Regions from separate parts of the Homo sapiens genome. Here all the other regions are linked to region 3. The links are contacts of gene promoters, found by promoter capture Hi-C in blood cells and fetal thymus (Javierre and others, 2016). All regions are on one chromosome and are shown on one strand. Each heading gives the region's core, a stretch centred on a gene start or on the middle of the fragment in contact. The rest is flanking DNA. Distances are from core to core; before and after follow the strand shown. Region 1 holds the start of PYDC5 (pyrin domain containing 5). Region 2 overlaps IFI16 (interferon gamma inducible protein 16). Region 3 holds the start of CD1E (CD1e molecule).

Region 1 (3,666 bases), core at 1-2,500, 650 kb before region 3:
GTGTGGGGTATTTTCTTAACTCGCTTGGGTACAACAATATAAGCACAAGGCAAGCTCAGACCAAAGAAGAGGCAGACCACTCCTGGCTGGTTGGTAGTCAAAGATCTAGATAGCAGAAACTTACACAGGAGGCAGTCTTAAGCGGGAACAAGAGAAGTCAGATCTCCACCTCGCAGTGCACGCCTGAGTAGTCTTTCAGACAGTGAGAAGAAACAAGGAAGGAAAAGCTGATGGGGGCGCTGAGGGGTGGGGATAGCTATACCGATAGTGCCTTAGGCCATCTGGTTGCTCTCTTAATCTATTTACTTCCTGCTTAAATGGATTGTTTGAGCTTCCTTCAATCTGTTCCACATTGCTAAGGAGTGGGAGGATGTTCCTGGAAGCAGCAGTCATCTTGGTGCCAGTATGCATTTTCCAGTGGGACTGCAGCCTCCTACAATTCAATTTAAGCTCAGTTCCCAGAACACGTTTTCACAACAATGCCATTCCTTCCCCTCCAACCTCAAGGCTTCTCTCAGCCAGTCCTTCCTTGAAATTTTGTAGTTTCTGTATTGCAGTTTTGTATTCTACTTTTCCTGTTGCTCAAAGCTAATGCCATAAACTCCAGACAACTCTGTTGGCAGAAAGAGCTTCTGTAGTTCTAGGGATGACCTCTTTACTTTGGAGTGGAATAAAAGAGACTCAGTGTTGAGGCAGGAGAGGAGAGTGAATGCATATGGAAACCTGGGGAGTGATGTGAACCAGTCATGATATACTGTACAAGGCCAGAGTTGGCATCATTCATCTGTTTATTGCATGTCTCATGGAGAAAATATGAGTGAAAGAAGTTTCTGGTTCATGAAAACTCCTGTTCTCTGACCCTCCCTGTAATGGACATGCATACTTTCCCACTGTCTTAGTCCATTTAGTGCTGCTGTAATGGAATACTATAGACTGGGTAATTTATACAGAACAGAAATGTATTTCTCACAGTACTTGAGGTGGAAGTCCAAGGTCAAGCATCAGTATCTGGTGAGGCCTTCTTGCTGTGTCCTCACATGACAAACGGGGCGAATTCACCCCCTACATGCCCGTTAGAGTGGCATTAATCAGTCTATTTACGTGAGTGAAATTCTCATGATCTAAATACCTCCCATTTGGCCCAAGCTCCCAACACTGTTGCATTGGGTACTAAGTTTCAACATTATTTTTGAAGGGGGTAAAAACATTGATAGTTTCTACTTCTCCGGCTTTATCTCTGCTATCTTCATTCTTTATTTGCTTATTTTATCTAAAACTGTTCTCCAGAAAGCATTCTTTGAGGATCTTTACTAGATTGATAATTTCTTTACTCTGTTTAATTTCAGGACTTCACTTTGGCTGTCAAAATTTCCCTTGATATAATTTATCTCTAAAATTGAAGATGAGATTCTCTACTGTTGTCAGTAATGAACTCTCCACCCTAAACATCTGGTTTTGGGAATTTTTTTTCTTTTGAGACGGAGTCTTGCTCTGTTGTGATGGCACGATCTCGGCTCATTGCAACCTCTGCCTCCCAGGTTCAAGTGATTCTCCTGCTTCAGCCTCCTAAGTAGCCAGAATTACACGCATGCACCATCAAGCCTGGCTAATTTCTGTATTTTCAGTAAAGACAAGGTTTCACCATGCTGGCCAGGCTGGTCTCAAACTCCTGATCTCAAGTGACCCACCCACCTCGGCCTCCCAAAGTGCTGGGATTAGAGGCGTGAGTCACGATGCCCGGCTGGTTTTGGGAATTCTTACCCCAAATTACTAACATCTATAATTTACTCAGATTTACTTAGCAATAAGGGCAAAATTAACTGAAATTTAGATTTCTTAACCTTTTTTTTTTCTTTTGGAGATAAGGTCTTGCCATGTTGCCCAGGCTGATCTCAAACTCCAGAGCTCAAACAATCTACCTACCTCAGCCTCCCAAAGTGCTGGGATTACAGGCATAAGCCACCACATCCATCCTTAATATTTTGGCTGGAATTTGGGTATTAATATATTAAGAAGAGAGAAATAAAATTTACAAGTAATGGAGAAGTGGTGTTTGAATTTTATTTCCTTTTATGTTTTAGATTAAGGGTTGACAATCTTTGGTTCAAGGAAAGAAACTGCTGTTCACACAAATAAGTGCTTCTATGTGTTTGAATGTTTAAGGTATCAAGTCATGAGTGTCAGAAATGCAAAATAATACAGAATTGGCTGGGCGCGGTGGCTCACGCCTGTAATCCCAGCACTTTGGGAGGCTGAGGCGGGCGGATCACAAGGTCAGGAGATCGAGACCATCCTGGCTAACACAGTGAAACCCCGTCTCTACTAAAAATACAAAAAATTAGCTGGGCATGGTGGCGGGCGCCTATAGTCCCAGCTACTCGGGAGGCTGAGGCAGGAGAATGGTGTGAACCCAGGAGGCGGAGCTTGCAGCGAGCCGAGCTCATGCCACTGCACTCCAGCCTGGGCGACAAAGCGAGACCCCGTCTCAAAACATAATAATAATAATAATAATAATACAGAATTATGGACATACAAGATAGGAGAAGTTTATGGTGCAAATACCTATCGCCTTGGTCTTTTTGTTCCCTAACTCAGTGACAGGTGGCTAACTGCTCCTTAGGCTGATAGAGCCAAAACGTGATTCCAGCCTAAGAATCACAAAAGAGCAAAACAGAGGAGGGATTGCTTAGGTAACAGAGATCGAGCTCCTTTAGGAATTTGGAATATGGCAAGTTATTTCTTCTTAGCTTTACGGCAGTAATTTAAGTGTTATGTGATTTTGTAATTGCAGAATATTATGACATAGCCAGAATAAAAATACATCTATTGTCTAAATAGATAACTGGATTCACCAGTTAAATTATCGTGAAAAAATAACTAATAGCAGAAACATTAAAATAAACCATGCGATTTTCTATCAGCTTAGTCTGAAAGTTCACACAAATTCAATTACTTGAAGTTTCCCTGCAATACACCATGTTTTACTTCCTTCTTAGAATCTAGGGTATCTTGCACAGTGGAACCATAGGAAGTTGGATTACTCCCACCAGAGATGGAAGTTTCCAAATTTTCCACTTTTATTAAATATATGTTATATATTTGGCATAATGCCTTGGATTTTGAAAAGCCTTCTTAACCTTGCTGTCTTTTGAAATCATTCTACAAGTAGATAGATATGGTTTGATTATAATTTTGTTTTTTATCTATGCTATTTCTGGCTTGAACATCCCTCTTCAAGAATGTGCAGTGAGGACATTTGCTCTGTGCATTCTCAGGTAACTCTGGCTCTTGAGTAATCAAGCCATATGGATGAATAGAGCCTAGGAAGTAGAGATTCCCAGGGCTGAAGTCTTAGATGGGATGCCTAGACAGTTGATTCAACATATGTTTATTTAACAAATGTTTATTGAGGACCTACTACTCTAGGTGGTAGGAGTACAGCAATAAACAGCACACAAATGCTTGACCACAAGGCACTTCTATTTCAGCAGGCTGGCCATTAAAGAATAAACAAATAGCAACAGCATTTATACTATAATGTCATATATAATATAATGCTTATATATTACAAGCAGATAAATTCTATGAAGAAATACAAATGGTATGAGGTAATAGTAACGGTATCGTGCTATTTTGCAGCATGTGTTCATTGAAGGATGAGCTTAG
Region 2 (3,681 bases), core at 69-2,568, 670 kb before region 3:
GAGCAGTACTTATGCTCTAATCCAACTGGCTATCCCCTGCACCCTGGCATTTCACCAACCTAAAAAAAAAAAGGTAAAAACAAGACACTGCAGGCCAAAGGAAACTCCTCATGAGTCCTTTAAACGTTAGGTTTACATAAATGCTATTAAGGTCCTATGAGAAGTGCCAAATAAGTTTAAAGCACAAAATCAAATAGCTGCAGAGTTTAAATCCATGTTGCTCTGTTAAGTAACTATAAATTTTTTTTAAGTAGACTAAATAAACTATATCTACTATAATCAGCAACGATTCATAAATTACACTGAGGACGCCATCAAAGAGAAAGCTAAGCAATTAGGACCTACCAGCCAGATGGTCTAGAAAAATAAAATAGCTTTAAATATAATATTAGCAAAAAAAGAAGTTTGTGTCATAATTAAAACTCAATGTTATACCTTTATTCCTAATACTGCCCCTGATAGAACTATAACAAAAGTGCTACAAGGATTAACAGCCCTATCCGATAAACTTGCCAACAATTCTAAAATAAATAACTCTTTTTCTAAAATAATAAAACATTGGTTCAGCGGATAAAAAAAAAATTTAACTTCAATTCTCACCTCGTTTGCTCTTGTTATTGGTGTACTTATTCTTGTAGGCTGTTATATTATTCCCTGCCTTTGAAATTTTATACAAAAACTTATCTCTGCCACTCTTGCAGAGTTAACTCCTAATTCTCCTCCACCCTATTCTGAAAAATTACTTCTCTTAAAAGGACAAAAAAAAATTAAGTCAAAACATATTAAACAAGTTTAAAGAAGAATTATGAAATGAGGGGAAATTGTAAAAAGTAGAGGTTCCTCTTCAAAAACTTTCCTCCCCATCTAATTAGAAATAAATAGTAACTTCTCTTAAAAGCAAAATTTATTCAAAGACCTGTACAAACATTCTTAAATATCTGCTAGCCATAATAAAAAATCAATATACTTTATGTTCTTAGCTCCCACAATTTAGCCTAAATATTTGCCCTAACATGCTTATACTGATCCAAGCAAGCATTAGGTCATAGCCTGTTCCTCTTCCTTATTTAAAGGTGTTTTTACCTTTCTCAATATTCCACAAGTTACTTCCTCCTTCCTTTGTTCTCCTATGCCTTTGCCTCTTTTAAAAAGTTCTAAGTGCTAGCCAGTCGGGACAAATACAGAAGGTGAGGTCCCGTCCCAGCCAATGGAAACCGAACGCAGCAGGAGGGTGGCCGCGTCAGATTATAAATGAGCCTGTCTCCTTTGTTCCGTATACTCTTGTGGCAAAACTGCTGGCGAGTGTACCCTTTCTACAAAAAGTATAAAAATGGCCTTGCTGAAAAAATTAAATTGATATTCAAATGCTATTTATTTATGGCACCAGGGAACAAGCATTGCACATACAAATAATCCCATCAAAAAGTGGGCTAAGGGCCGGGCACGGTGGCTCACGCCTGTAATCCCAGCACTTTGGGAGGCCGAGGCGGGCGGATCACGAGGTCAGGAAATCGAGACCAACCTGGCTAACACGGTGAAACCCCGTCTCTACTAAAAATACAAAAAATTTAGCCGGGGGCGGTGGCGGGCGCCTGTAGTCCCAGCTACTCTGGAGGCTGAGGCAGGAGAATGGCGTGAACCCGGGAGGCGGAGCTTGCAGTAAGCCGAGATAGCGCCACTGCACTCCCGCCTGGGCAAAAGAGCAAGACTCTGTCTCAAAAAAAAAAAAAAAAAAAAAAAAAAAAAAAAAAAAAAAAAAGGGCTAAGGGCTAAGGACATGAATAGACAATTCTCAAAAGAAGATATGTAAATGGCCAACAAGCATAAGGAAAAACGCTCAACATCACTAATGATCAGGGAAATGCAAATCAAAACCACAAAATGATGCCACATTACTCGTGCAAGAATGGCCATAATCAAAAAATTTTAAAAAACAGACGCTGGCATCGATGTGGTGAAAAGGAACACTTCTACACCGCTGGTGGGAATGTAAACTAGTAGAACTACTATAGTAAACAGTGTATAGATTCCTTAAAGAACTAAAAAGCAGATCTACCATTTGATCCAGCAATCCCACTACTGGGTATCTACCCAGAGGAAAAGAAGTCAGTATACAAAAAAAGATCATTGCACATGCATGTTTACAGCAGCACAATTCACAACTGCAAAAATATGGAACCAGCCCAGATGCCCATCAGTAAACAAATGGATAAAGAAATGGGGTATGTATACACCGTGGAATACTATTACTCATCCATAAAAAGGAACAAAATAACGGCATTCACAGCAACCCGGATGGAATTGGAGACCATTATTCTAAGTGAAGTAACTCAGGAGAGGAAAACCAAACATTGTATGTTCTCACTCATAAGTGGGAGGTAAGCTATGAGGACACAAAGGCATAAGAATGATACAATGGACTTTGGGGACTCAGGGGAAAGAGTGGGAGGGGGGTGAGGGATAAAATGCTACATACACACTGGGTACAGTGTACGCTGCTTGGACGATGGGTGCATCAAAAAGTCAGAAATCACCACTAAAGAACTTATTCCTATAACGAAGCACCACCTGTTTCCCAAAAACCTACTGAAATAAAAAATAATTTACAACATTCAAAATGGCAACAGCGTAAAATCATGTACTGTAAGGAAACTTAACACGTGAATATTTGAATTCAAATTAACAAATTGGAGAGCTTCCTCTGTATAAAACTTTGTCAGTGGGACATAATTTTGATCACTGCAAATAATTTTAAGTTTCAAATTAGGTATTTTTATGGACTAAATACACACATATGTGTATTGTAATGTTACAAACTAGAAAGTATCACACACACACACACACACACACACGACGTTTTCTAATTCACAAATGGAGAACATGTAATTTTAAATCCCAACCCTACAATCACTTAAAAGTTTACATAAAATTCAGAGTTCAATTTTTTTGATAAAGTTCAGATTTCTTTCTTTTTAAAATTGTATCCTATCACATCATTCCATCCAGAAAAAAAAAATTAAAAAAAGTAAATGTGAATACAAGGAGAATATCTGTTTTCTCATGCCTCCCGCTGAACTCTGTAAAAAAAACCTACAAACTTGTTTTTGCCAAAACTTAAAGCAAATCATTTCCACTTTGGAAAACTAATATTTGCCTATTTAATTCTTACCTGGATAAAACTATGCATTTCTGAAATCAGTTTTGACATCTGGTTCTTTTTTCTAAGTCGAAAGCAGAAAAGTTGGAGCTTATCTCCTTCTTCACAGGGGATATTGTGACATTGTCCTGTCCCCACTACATCCATTTTTCCTCTATCATCCTGAATTTCGTAGATTGTGGTCTTCTGATTTACTGTTTTCTGTAACAGAAAATTAATATTCTGTTCCTGAGAATGTAATTAATAACAACCACATATAGGCTGAAGTCCCTTCTAAGAGAGTTAAACAAGATGCACAACAGCAACTCCTAGTACAGATATGCACATATCTTAGGCCACATCTTTGCAGAAAGCCGTCCCTCAATATCCTTTTTGTTTAAGTCTTTCATATCTGAGATATTTCTATGACAGTTCTAGAACAATGAGTTTTCTTCCAAATTTCTACTGCTTTCACCTACAGGGCAGCTTTGCTTCCCAAAGCACCTTGATACAGAGGAAGCTGAAATCTCTGATAGCCTTTCTGG
Region 3 (3,813 bases), core at 1,085-3,584:
TTTTGATTGTCCCAGTTTTACCCTTCTTGTACCTAGCATTCCTACCCATTTCCTCAGCCCCACACTCAAAAGCCCCAGGGCTATTTTCATTATTTCCCAGCAGAGCCTCAGCTGTTTCTCACCCCAATGGATGATTAGATCATGGCCCCCTAGACTGCTGTGTTTCACCCGACAGGACAGGCCAGCTGCCTCCCCAGCCGCCACATCCAGGGTTGCTCGGAGATACCATGTCTCGTCAGCATTAGGCAGGACGTCCCCTCGCTGAGTGCCCCGCTGCTCCTGCTCACCCCGCATCCACATCACCCACACGGGCTTTGGGTAGAATCCTGAGACATGGCACACAAGCTGCAGACGGCCAGGGCCAGGACTGGGGCCACAGGACAGCCAGGCCTCTGGCTTCACTAGGAAGAAGAAGATAGAAAAAAAATGGAATTTTGAAGGGCACCCCAGGCCAGAGCTCAGAGACTCAGGTGCCTTTGTAATAATACTAAGAGTGATTTAGTAATCACTTCTTTCTCTTGTCTAAGAAACAGTCCTGAACCCACACATCTCATTCTCTAGTCTCTCACTATGTCTTTCAAAATGATGATGAGAGGCAAATTCAAATATGAGAGTTATAGTACTAGGAACAAGAGGGGAGAGAGAGAGTTGGGCTCACCTTTCCGTTTCAGTTCTGACTCCCCTGCTTCCATGAGCCCCGCTAGAAATCGAGGGCAGGTGTGACCAAGAAGGCTTTGCAGTATTTCCTTAATATCTAGGTAGCGATTGAGCACTTTACAGATGTTCTGGGCCCGGATCCCTGCTCCTGGAGATGGCTCCCAGGAAATTCCTTGGAAACTCAGGAAATCTGACCCTTGATATGCCATATTTAAGAAGATTTGTGGGGCATTCATTCTACAGCCAGCTAATATCTGGATCTCGAAGGGGTCTGAGAGTGGACAGGGAAGAGAGATCATTATGGAAAGAATGACAAGGAAGAAAAACAAACAATTTAGACAGTAAAGAGATTCAAGGGAAGAAAAATTTGCTGGGAAATCATATGGAGACTAGAGTTTACTGGCAAAGGGGAAGAAAATTTGTGGGAAGAAAATTTGAAGATAATAAAGATACTTTGAAATAACTAATGGGAAAGTGGTAGATGGGAAGGCTATCAGGAAGATAGGAGATTGGTCATAAATAATTCACGTGAAAGTGGTTAGGTACAGGCCAGTCCATGTCAACACTCAGGCAAAGGATAAAGAAGGGCAGAAAGAGGGTTGAGAAAGGCTGAGTCTGAGGGCAGGAATGAGGGGCAGAAGATCCAGAGGAGACAATCATTCCAAAGAGCCAGACATGAAGCTATATTCATGTTGAGATATGTACATGCAGGCCCTTTTGTGTATATGGTGGAGTGTGGGTGGTGGTGAAGGGTGAAGCAGAGGAGGGAGTGGGAGTCAGAGAGTGGGGAACAAGGTTAGTAAGGTTAAATGATGGTCAGAGTCTATATACTATCTTCCACTTTGGAAAATAGTTGGTGTTCCCAGGCAAATTATCAGCTTAGAGCAACGAACTTACATTCAAGCTGAAATTGACCAGCAGAAGCTTGCACTATCTGGATAAAACTATGGAAGTATAACTGGAACAGTGACTGTAAGTTTTTCAGCTCCTGCTTGCTGAAGTTTCCATGGGACCAGGGCTTCAGAAAGCGGATGGTGCCCAAGACAGTGTCCCAGCCATGAGTCTGCAGGTCACCCAGCCATCCTGAGCCCTCACTGTGTGCCCAGCTGTGGTTGGCAAAGGAGGAAGTTTGGAGCATGCGGAAGGACAGCTGCTCCTCTGCTGCTAGATGATAGGATTGTAGAGCCTGGGGAGCTGAGAGAGAGGGAAATGACAAGTAGAGAGAATGTAAAGGGATGGGAAAAGTGATGCCAAAGGGAAAAAAGGAACCCAGAGATGAGAGACAGTTAGGTAGCTTGTACATACTCCAATACCCTTTTCCTGTGGGGCCAGCTTCCTTTCTCCAAAATCAGAGACAAAAACTGAGACTGAGAGCAAGAATTCTCTGCCTGGAACTAGCCTGAAAGGCATATTCCAAGGGCATCCTAGAAGAGTACTGCTCCCTTCCCCCAGGACCTCCCCAGAGCTTCCTCTCAGCCCTCTGGTGCCCTACCATAGGTATCTTTCCACCTGCACTCTTCTTACCTGCTGTATTTTCCCCAGGACAGCAGAGACCCTCGAAGAGGAGGAACAGGAGCAGCATTGAAGCTCTGTTAAAGGAGGGATTCCTTGGCAGGACACCTGCCCTAATAATTCAGATATCAGTACCCCTCTCCACACCCTCTTGCACTCTCGTCTGACTTCCCTTGCTGTACAGACAGACAAACCTCTCCCTCTGCTGACTTCCCTGTCAGAGAAGCCACACTGCCTCGCTTTGCTGCAGCCTCCCACGGGGTTTTTCATTTCCCCTCTGCCTCTCTCACTGTCTGGCTCCAGATTTTCTCCCTGCTCTTGTGTACATCCTCCCAACCTCCCTAATTGCACTAACTGCTGGAAAACGAGTCCTGGCTTAAAACAAAGTCTGTGGTCTGGCTAGAAGATGGAGTAGCTTTTGGCCTTGTAGAAATCAAATCCATACTTGGCTTGTCAATAATCTAATCTGTGAGAAGTGATGGTAGTCACTCAGTGGTGCCTAGTGACCTATCCACCAGTCTCCCACTTCTACCTCTCTGTGATCCTCTCCTCCGCCTGTATCTCTTCACTCTGCTCTTGATCATGATCAGAAGACACTCAGCATCCTGGATGTAGCTGCATAATAAGCAGGCAACCCTCCATAATCCAACTCTCTGTGCTGCTGAAAAAGGAGCAGCAATGGCAATGCAGATTATCAGAAAATCTAAAGAAAGCTCCTTTTTTTCAGTTTCCCCAGTCAAGCCAACTGTCACTGTTAAAGTGGTCCATGAGTGGGCTTGACCTGGAAGTGGTGAGCTAGAGGGCAGGTAGATTTCACCCATGTTTTACAGGTGGCTCTGGAGGAAATACATAGGGGACTTGGATCCCCATCTCTACCCAAACGAAGAAAGCATGTCTGGAAGTCTGTGGGCCAGCTTTGCCCTGGGTATGAAGAAAGACTGAGGGCAGGCATGAAGCTCCTCATTAGTTCATGGCCTGAGAGCATTGGAGTCCCCTTGCTTGCGTTCGGTTAGAGAGCAGTTTGGGTGGACACAGGGAAGTACCTTTAGAGGACTGAAGTGTTCACTGGAGAATTAATTGAGTCTTTATTTTTGTTTCTTTTTCATTGATATTTGTTGTGACACTCTGAAGGCAGTTGAAATAACATTCCTTTGTTTGGTTTTTATATATTTGTTCAACTGACATTTATTCAGAGCCCACCTATGACCAAAAACAATTGCCAGGCCCTAAGATATCAGAGATAGACATCTTTGGGAAAAAATAAAACAAAATTCAACCCCAAACCTCTACTTTTCTTATACAGTAAATTTACTGAACGGTGGTCAGAATTATTGAAAAAGGTCCAAACCTAGTTTCATCTTATTATCATTTCTAAATTCTAAGTTAAAAGAAAGATAAAAAGTTTCCTTGTTTCCTGAGTAGAATATCTACATTTATTTTCAATACTCTTTCTGTGCTGGAGAGGTGCTGGAGAGGATGTGGAGAAATAGGAACACTTTTACACTGTTGGTGGGACTGTAAACTAGTTCAACCATTGTGGAAGTCAGGGTGGCGATTCCTCAGGGATCTAGAACTAGAAATACCATTTGACCCAGCCATCCCATTACTGGGTATATACACAAAGGATTATAAATCATGTTGCTA

Evidence for each region. The method cuts DNA at HindIII sites, captures the fragments that hold promoters and counts their contacts. A CHiCAGO score of 5 or more calls a contact.
Region 1: a contact is called between a fragment that was not itself captured here and the fragment with the promoter of CD1E in region 3, in 1 of 17 cell types (fetal thymus). The highest score is 8.3, in fetal thymus.
Region 2: a fragment that was not itself captured here is called in contact with the fragment with the promoter of CD1E in region 3 in 1 of 17 cell types (fetal thymus); the score reaches 6.5 in fetal thymus.

The regions. Positions count from the first base shown.
Region 1 is chr1:159,002,500-159,006,165 of GRCh38, reverse strand. PYDC5 (pyrin domain containing 5) reads left to right here and starts at 3,415. Exons shown (of 1, transcript NM_001320010.2): 1 at 3,415-3,666. It also overlaps a transcript of IFI16 not described here. RefSeq lists enhancers at 1-253, 254-779. The HindIII fragment of the contact is 4,916 bases long and covers 1-3,666 here.
Region 2 is chr1:159,020,018-159,023,698 of GRCh38, reverse strand. It overlaps IFI16 (interferon gamma inducible protein 16), which reads right to left. Exons shown (of 12, transcript NM_001376587.1): 6 at 3,170-3,358. Among named protein-coding and RNA genes, the nearest start is that of IFI16, 12 kb to the right of the region's middle. The HindIII fragment of the contact is 4,898 bases long and covers 1-3,681 here.
Region 3 is chr1:158,352,415-158,356,227 of GRCh38, reverse strand. CD1E (CD1e molecule) reads right to left here and starts at 2,334. Exons shown (of 6, transcript NM_030893.4): 1 at 2,182-2,334; 2 at 1,555-1,851; 3 at 659-928; 4 at 123-401. The coding sequence starts at 2,239. The HindIII fragment of the contact is 6,143 bases long and covers 1,584-3,813 here.